2 separate regions of the Homo sapiens genome follow, and region 2 is linked to region 1. Evidence: promoter capture Hi-C in 16 types of primary human blood cells and fetal thymus (Javierre and others, 2016). All regions are on one chromosome and are shown on one strand. The core of a region is centred on a gene start or on the middle of the fragment in contact, and the rest is flanking DNA. Distances in the headings are between cores, read along the strand shown. Region 1 holds the start of TASP1 (taspase 1). Region 2 overlaps SPTLC3 (serine palmitoyltransferase long chain base subunit 3).

Region 1 (4,578 bases), core at 1,200-3,699:
TGATATTGAAGGTTTAATGCCTCATTAAATGAACTCCAGGACATACTTAAATTCATCTTCTAACCAGTAATTCCACTTCTGAGAAAACTTTCTACCAAAATAACTAAATAGAGAAAAGGTTTTATGCCTTTTATACCATGTTTAACACAGGATAATTTAGAATAACAAAAATCTGGGAGCAACCTAAATGTCCAATACAGAAAAACGGTTAAGAAAACAATAACCTACACTTTTATGATCAACTGATTTTCAACAAGAGTGTTGAAATGGTTTCTACCATTCAATGGAGGAAAGGACAGTCCTTTCATCAAATGATGCTAGAACTGGATAGCCACATGCAATAGAATGAAACTGAACTCCTACCTCACATCATACAGAAAAATTAACTCTAAATATCCTCCCTATTGCACTTGACAAGTCTTTGAAAAAAAAATTCTAAGTAGATAAAGGACACCATTCAAGAAAGTAAAAGGACAACCCATAAAATGGGAGAAAACGCAAGAAAATATTGCAAATCATGTATCTGGAAAGGGACTTACATTTAGAATATAGAAAGAACTCATACAACTTTAATATAAGACAATTCAATTTAAAAATGGGCAAAGGAATTAAATGGACATTTCTCCAAAGATATACAAAGGGTCAATAAGCACATTAAAAGATGCTCAACATTATTAGCCATCAGGGAAATGCAAATCAACACTACAATGAGCTACCACTTTATAAGCACTAAGACTGCTATAACCAAAAAGAAAGATAAGTGCTCCCAAGGATATGAAAAAATCAGAACCCTTATAACCTGCTGGTGGGAATGTAAAATGGTGCAACCAGTTTGGAAAACATTTGGCACTCACTCAAAAAGTTAAACATAGAGTTACCATATGCCCACCAATTCCACTTCTAGGTATATACTCAAGAGAACTGAAAACGTATGTCCATACAAAAACTTGTACACAGATGTTTATAGCAGAATTATTCAAAATAGCCAAAAAGTAGAAACAACCTAAATGTCCATCGACCGATGATGGTTAAGCAAAATGTGGCATATTCACACAATGGAACATTACCCATCCATAAAACAGAATGAAATACTGATACACAGACATTGATGAACCTTGAAAACATACTAACTGAAAGACACCAGACAAGTGAGGCCATATATTCTATGATTCCATTTATATGAAATGCCAGTATAGGAAAATCCATAGATACAGAAAGTAGATTAGTGGTTACAAGGCCTGGGAGAGAAAGCAGAGAATCTAATGGGGAGTGACTGTCATGAGTATAGGATTTCTTTTGGGGGTGATGAAAATGTTCTGAAAGTAGATAGTGGTGATGGGTGCACAACTTTGCGATATGAGAAAAAGCACTGAAATTTACAATTTTAAAGAATAAATTTTATGGTGCATGAATACCTTAATAAGACTTTCTCAAGAGGAAAAAAGACAATCTATCCGTGCAATGAACACAATGTATGTAACTATGCCTCTTAGTTATAACCGTATTTTACACGCATACATTATGATCACAAATAGGTTAATATGAATAAAATATTAGAAAAAAGATCAAAATGCTGGGTTGGCAGAACTATAGGTGATCTCTTCATAACTATTTCTGCATTTTCCAGATGTTCCTTAGTAAGCACTGCTTTTTGTAAGTGGTGGGGAAAAGTTTTATTTACAACAAAAAAGATAAATTATTAAACTCCTAAGAATATAAGTAAAAATTCCTTCGCTAATAAAGAATAATAATAATTCAGCAATCTAATGGCCCCTAACACACCTTTCCTTCCCCTCCCCTACAGAAGCCAGGAAAGTTGAACTCTCTCCTTCCGGAAACACGATACCCTCGATTTCCAGGACATCTCTAGCTCCTGCTTTCCCCCCCTCCTCTCCAGCTGCTCCATCTTCTCGGTCCTTTCCTCCTCCTCTTCTTCCTCCTCCTCCTCCCCCTGAGTAGTAAGTGCTAACGACCCGCAGGACTCTCATCAGGCCTCTATTACTAAGTAAGGGGCTGCCTTACCCCCAACCCGCCACCCAGGACAAGGCGCACATTCTCGGCTGTCTGCGAACCTCGGACTCTGAGACATCTCCAGCCTGAGACTGCAAAGTGGGTGAAGAACTGCGAGAACTCCCCACATACAGACAGTACTTCCCCGGTGGCCACGAGGACGCCAAGCCGGAGATGAGGCTGGGAAGGGGGACGACGGGGCCGCCTAGAGCGACCAAGACTAGGGAACTAGGGACATCCTGGCCCCCTCCTCTAGCCCCGCCCGGGGCAAGGGGTGTCCTGCGCGCCGCCCCCTCTCGGACCCGGAGAGGACGTCCCAGCTAGCGTACGGGGCCCACACACAGAGGCAGCAGCGCGGAGGCGGCAGCGGCGCGGACAGCGTGGGAAAGAGGGACACTCACCCGCTTCAGCCCCGAGCCTTCACTGCACCGGAAGTAGTCACCCGCCCGTTGCCAGGGTGAGGAAGCGGGGCTGACATCAAGTCTCCCCATTGGTCATTCGGGGTACCACGTGGTCGGAAGCAGCCTCCCACAAGCGGCTCTGACTCCGCCCTCCGCTTCGGAGCGGCTCACCTGGCCTCAGAGGTGCAGCGCTAACTCCACCTGGGGCTTCGTTCTGAGCTGCGCATGCGCTATTGCTTATCTCTACCCACCCCGCCCCTGAATAAGCCCGCAGGATGTGATTATATCTGAGTGGTTGATTGACTAATACTGTGATGAGAAATGAAATTAAACTGACCATCATTTTATCTAGGTGTCGCTTAAGAGTTACTTTCTTTCAATCCTTAGAGCACTGTTAGACGGTAGGGAAAACTAAGGTTCAGCCTGCATTGCTTGTAGGAGTTGGGGCACGAGCCTTGCCCAGGGGGAAGGAGTGTAGGCGGTCTTTTATCGGCTAGGATGTAAGACCGAAACCCAGTCATGGGTTTTGATGACCCATGACTGATGGATTTTCCTTATACTTCCACCAAAACATCACGTCGAACTGAATGTAAAGGCAGAAATGAGAATCTAACTGGCTTCTTTAAGCCAGCTATAGAGGAATTTACACTAATGCAAAAGATAACACTTTTCTTACCACATTTTTTTGTTTTTGGAAAATATTTATTCTTCATTAAAATGTCTTAATTATATTAACACATAATGGTTTATTATTGTTATTTTAAATAACTTTTTAACATTTCAGTTTTTTGTTGGTTTTTTTCTTTTTTTTTTGGAGATGGAGTTTCACTCTGTCAACCAGGCTGGAGTGCAATGGCACGATCTCGGCTCACTGCAACCTCTGCCTCCCGGGCTCAAGCGATTCTCCTGCCTCAGACTCCTGAGTAGCTGGGATTACAGGCGCTCGATACACACCCGACTAATTTTTTGTATTTTTAGTAGAGACGGGTTTTCACCATGTTTGCCATGCTGGTCTCGAACTCCTGACCTCAGGTGATCCTACTGCCTTGGCCTCCCAAAGTTCTGGGATTACTGGCGTGAGCCACCGCACCCAGCCACATTTCAGCTTTGTATTCAATTTTTAATATAGTAAATATTAATAGATGTAACCCACAGAAACAAAAGCTTTGGAGTGTTCTCTACTATTTTGGGGAGTATAAAGGTATGCTGAAACCAAAAAGTTCGAGAACCACTGATACCATTATTATAAATATAACCTATGTGGTTTTATTATGTAACTTGGGGCTTTTTTTCTTTCTCTTCTACCACTGACTTCTTAGGGAGGGGCAAGGGGAAGAAGTTTATTACATAGTAAGAATAACAGTTTATTACATAGCAATAGTAACTGAAACCGATTTTGTTACCTAGAAGTAGGATGGATATTATAACAAAACATAACATAATAACATCATAAAAGTAAAACGTGTGGCACTGGCTTTGGAACTAGGTGAAGCAGCAAGAGCAGGAAGGGATCCAAAGTATTAACAAGAGTCTAAAAGGACTTGAGGAAGCTGCCAATGAGGGCTTAAAGGGAGCTAAGGAAGATGTTATTGGAAGCTGGAGAAAATGGGGCCCTTGTTATATAGTGCCAGAAAGTTTGGCCCAGGCATTAGGAAGCAGACATAAACCATCCCCATTGTGACCTTTCTGAATTCCTCACCCGCAGAATCCATCAGCATAATAAAATAGTTGTTCTTTTGCACCTTTAAAGTGGATTTTTACACAGCAATATTAACTGGAACCAGCAGGAATAAAAGAAAGATGTTAAAGTTTTAAAAAGACATAGACATGCTCCCTTCCATTTCTTAGGCAACATTCTTCCTGGAATTTAACTACATTGTAATAATCATCTCCCAGTGCTGCTCTGTATACTTTTGTCTTGGGTATCACACCCAGATGCCACACAGGCCATCCTCTGGTAGGTGAATACTGCTCAAGTAAAAGTAACAAAATTCTTCGGACCCTTTTTTTTATTATTATTATTGAGGCAGAGTCTCACTCTGTTGCCCAGGCTAGAATGCAGTGGTGCGATCTCAGCTCACTGCAACCTCTGCCTCCCCGGTTCAAGTGATTCTCCTGCCTCAGCCTCCCCAGTGGCTGGGATTACAGGTGCCCGTGACCACGCCCG
Region 2 (4,329 bases), core at 819-3,318, 490 kb before region 1:
ATTGCCTCTCTGCCTTGCTGTTGCTGCTTACCTACATGTGTGACAACTTGGGTTTGTCCAATAAATGCAAAATTAGCCAACAAACTGAACTCTAGTTAAGAGGGAAAGTTTGCCTGGTTGTGCAGAAATAGCTAGCAAACTGTTCCAGAACCTTCTGCCCCTTCATTTACTTTATCCAAAGAGTTAGCCAAGGGTAGACTTTTATGAAAGCTCAGTAAATTCTGCAGTTGATTTGAGTCTTTAAAAAATTTCCCTAGAAAGAATGTAAAGAGAATCTGTGTGTCTTTTAGATGGCACTGGGGCAAAAGATAGTGCAGCCACTTCCTTCCAGCCGTCCCACAAACAAGATATCCTTTTACATGAGCCCTACTGGAGCATCCTCTTCACATTTGCTTCCTCTGTGTGGTTGGACCCTGAGATGGGGGAGTGGTGATGTAATACATATGGAATTCCATGTTGGTTCAGTACAAGTGGGAAAGGAAAGAACATTATTCCATCTGTAGCATCTTCCAGGGTAAAGGGGAACTGGTATTCCACACTGGCCTTTGTTTTTCCTTCCTACAGCTGGGGAGGATTAGGCAGGTGGATTTGTGCCTGAGGAATCCCAGTGTGTGGGTCTGGGCTAGAGAGATTGTATTTGCTTTCTATTTCTACATTACGAATTACCACAAACTTAGTGACCATTGAATATATCAGTTTCCTTGGGTCAGGAGTCTGGGCACAGTGTATTCTCTGCTCAGGTTCTCATAATGCTGAAATCAAGGTGTCAGCAGCTGCTGTTTTATCTGGAGCTCAGGCACCTCCTCCAAGCTCACATGGCTGTGCCAGAATCCAGTCTTTTGGGGCTGTAGGACTGAGATCCCATTTCCTCTCTGGCTGTCAATGGGAACACTCTCAGCTTCTGGTGGCTGTTTCCGTCTCATGAGGGCCCCTCCATCTTCAAAGCCAGCAACGGAGAGTCTCCCTCACATCAAATACCCCGCCTCTCTCTCTCTCTTTGAATCTCTTTTAAAACTTCAGAGATGTTCACCTGTAGCTAAGACCTAATCAGGGCTCTCTTAATTAGGACTTCATTACTGGTGAACATCTCTGAAGTTTTGTGCCCTTTGTAAAATAGGAGGACTTTATGTAGTTAAATTCTCTGTGATCATCTGCTTCAACTTGAGCACTGAGAATGAAATTATTCTGATAAACATGTAATTCTTAAAAATAGGAATATATGGAGGACATGTCTTGGGCACCAAAAAGACCAAGAAGGAGACCGGGATGGCCAGGTTGGCTGTAGGTGCCGCAGGTCAGTTATGTAGACAAGAGGGACCCAGTTTTAGAGAGCAAATCCAAGTCAGTGAGTCCAGTCTTTGGTTCAAATTAATAGTTTTCAATATTTGTGAACCATAGAATTTTTCAAATAAATGTGTATGAAAGTATATATATATATTCTGTAGCACTCAAGTTATGTCAGACACCCTACTAACTGCTTAATATTTAATCCTCATAACAGTATGCAGTGGGCATTATTATTATTATCCTTGTCATGATTCCCATTTTACAATGAAGAATCCAGGTCTCAGAAAGAGGAAGTACCTTGCCCAAGATGGTAGAGTTTACTTTGAACCCAGCAAATTGGCTTCATACTGTTTGAGTGCTTGGCTGAGAAGTCATTGTCCTGGGCACAAGGCAAAAGTCTGGGGGGCTTCCCCATCAATTTTTCCCCATACCCTCCTCCCTGAGGCCTGTTCAGTGCATCCTACCCTAGCAAAGCTCTGGAAACCAAAAGGTTTTAATTCTGCAGGCAGCTGCCTTGGATGGGGCTTCCTGGTGGCCACCTTCATTTGCACGGTTTCTCAGAGCCCTTTCAAGGAACCACATTAACACAATTACTCAGCCTAGTATCTGTCTTTTGCCAATTCCTTTGTCTTCTTGCCACAAATTGGAACAGTTGTCGACACAGCTCCTCGCCCATTTCAGACATTTGCTGCCACCTTGGCTTCCTGACTAGTCTTGCTACCTCCAGCTTTTCCCTCATCCTGATCCATGCACTATACACTATGAGCTTTGTCTTCCTAACCCCCTCAGAGCATGTCATGTTTACTTACAATGCTTCCAGGGCTCTCTAATACCCATCAAAAAATTGTGACTCTCAAGGTGGCATTTTTAGCTTATGATGATCTAACTCTACTGATCTTTCCCATGACTGGAATCCAAACATTCTAGGCAAGTACTCATCCCTTTCCTCCCCATCCCCAAACTTGTGTCCACAAGATGTTAAGTTACCATCTCTAGGTCTCCTTCAAACTCTCAGAGCACTTCTTTTATTGGGCACTTGATTTTCTATCTTGTTGTGATTAATTTTTCTAGTTTATAAGACCCTTGAAAATAGTGGACACACTGATATTTTAATCTTCCACTGAACACAACAGCCACTTACAAATAATAGGTACTAAGTAAGTAGATGCTGAATCAATCATCCTCCCAGAAGTCCTGAGAAATAGATGTAGTAGCTATTACTATCATCCCCATTTAACAGATCAGTAAATTGAGGCTCAGAGATGATGAGTGACTTGCTCATCTCTATAGATATAGAGGCAGATAGAACCTAACGCACAAATCTATTGACTGAGGACAAAAATTTCTTGAGGCTGAATTATTCTCTGGTGTCTTCAGTTATTATCAATCATTATTTTTAGAGAATCAACAAACACTATATAATTTGTTACTTTCAGCAGTGGTTCTTAACTGGAGGTACACACCACAGTTACCCAGTGAGTTTTTCTGAAAGGTCCAACCTAGTCCTTCTGGAGCAGAATGTCTGCAGAGGGAGGTCTACTATGTGTGTGTGTGTGTATATATATATACACAGATTTTTTTGAGACGGAGTCTCGCTCTGTCGCCCAGGCTGGAGTGCAGTGGCGCAATCTTGGCTCACTGCAAGCTCCGCCTCCCAGGTTCACACCATTCTCCTGCCTCAGCCTCCCAAGTAGCTGGGACTACAGGCACCCGCCACCACGCCCAGCTAATTTTTTTGTATTTTTAGTAGACACAGGGTTTCACCATGTTAGCCAGGATGGTCTTGAGCTCCTGACCTTGTGATCCACCTGCCTCAGCCTCCCAAAGTGCTGGGATTACAGGTGTGAGCCACCGCACCTGGCCTACTATGTGTATTCTTGAAAAAAAAATTCTAGAAACCCTGATGTGTTTCTCTGGTTAAGAATCACTGATTTTGAGGCAAGAGAAAGAAATAAAGGGCACCCAAATAGGAAGAGAGGAAGTCAAACTATCTCTGCAGACAACATGATTATATATATCTAGAAAACCCCATAGTACTGGCCCCAAAGCCCCTCAGCTGATAAACGACTTCAGCAAAGTTGCAGGAAACAAAATCAATGTACTAAAATCACTAGCATTTCTATACACCAACAACAGCAAAACTGAGAGCCAAATTAGAAAAGAATCCCATTCACAATTGCCACAAAAAGAATAAAATACCTTGGAATAGAGCTAACCAGAGAGGTGAAAGATCTCTACAATGAAAATTACAAAACACTGTTCAAAGAAACCAGAGAAGACACAAACAAATGGAAAAATATTCCATGTTCATGGATAGGAAGAATCAACATCATTAAAATGGCTATACTGCCCAAAGCAATTTACAGATTCAGTTCTATGCCCATCAAACTACCAATGACATTCTTTACAAAACTAGAAAAAAAAAGATTTTAAAATTCATATGGAACCAAAAAAGAGCACAAATAGCCAAGGCAATCCTAAGTAAAAAGAACAAAGCTGGAGGCATCATGTTACCCAACTTCACACTATACTACAAGGCTACAGCAACCAAAACAGCATGATACTGGTAAGAAAACAGGCACATAGACCAATGGAACAGAATAGAGTGCTCAGAAATAAGACTGCATATCTTCAACCATCTGATCTTCAACAAACTTGACAAAAACAAGTAATGGGGAAAGGACTCCCTATTTAATAAATAATCAGCATCATTTATTAAATAGGGACAAATATAAATAATTCTGCCATAAAGCCACATGCATGCGAATGTTCCTTGCAGCACTATTCACAATAGCAAAGACATGGAATCAACCTAAATCCTTATCAATGACAGACTGAATAAAGAAAATTTGGTACATATACACCATGGAATACTATGCAGCCATAAGAAAGAACAAGATCATGTCTTTTGCAGGAACATGGATGGAGCTGGAGGCTATTCTCCTTAGCAAACTAACACAGGAACATAAAACCAAATACCACATGTTCTTACTTATAGGTGGGAGGTAAATGATAAGAACTTATGAACACAAAGAAGGAAAC

The links. The method cuts DNA at HindIII sites, captures the fragments that hold promoters and counts their contacts. A CHiCAGO score of 5 or more calls a contact.
Region 2: a fragment that was not itself captured here is called in contact with the fragment with the promoter of TASP1 in region 1 in 1 of 17 cell types (total CD4 T cells); the score reaches 6.4 in total CD4 T cells.

What each region holds. Positions count from the first base shown.
Region 1 is chr20:13,636,483-13,641,060 of GRCh38, forward strand. TASP1 (taspase 1) reads right to left here and starts at 2,450. Exons shown (of 14, transcript NM_017714.3): 1 at 2,412-2,450. RefSeq lists enhancers at 1,807-2,307, 1,921-2,010 and a silencer at 2,201-2,350. The HindIII fragment of the contact is 10,129 bases long and covers 1-3,573 here.
Region 2 is chr20:13,141,925-13,146,253 of GRCh38, forward strand. All of the region lies in intron 9 of SPTLC3 (serine palmitoyltransferase long chain base subunit 3), which reads left to right. It also overlaps a transcript of TASP1 not described here. Among named protein-coding and RNA genes, the nearest start is that of ISM1, 77 kb to the right of the region's middle. The HindIII fragment of the contact is 6,662 bases long and covers 1-4,329 here.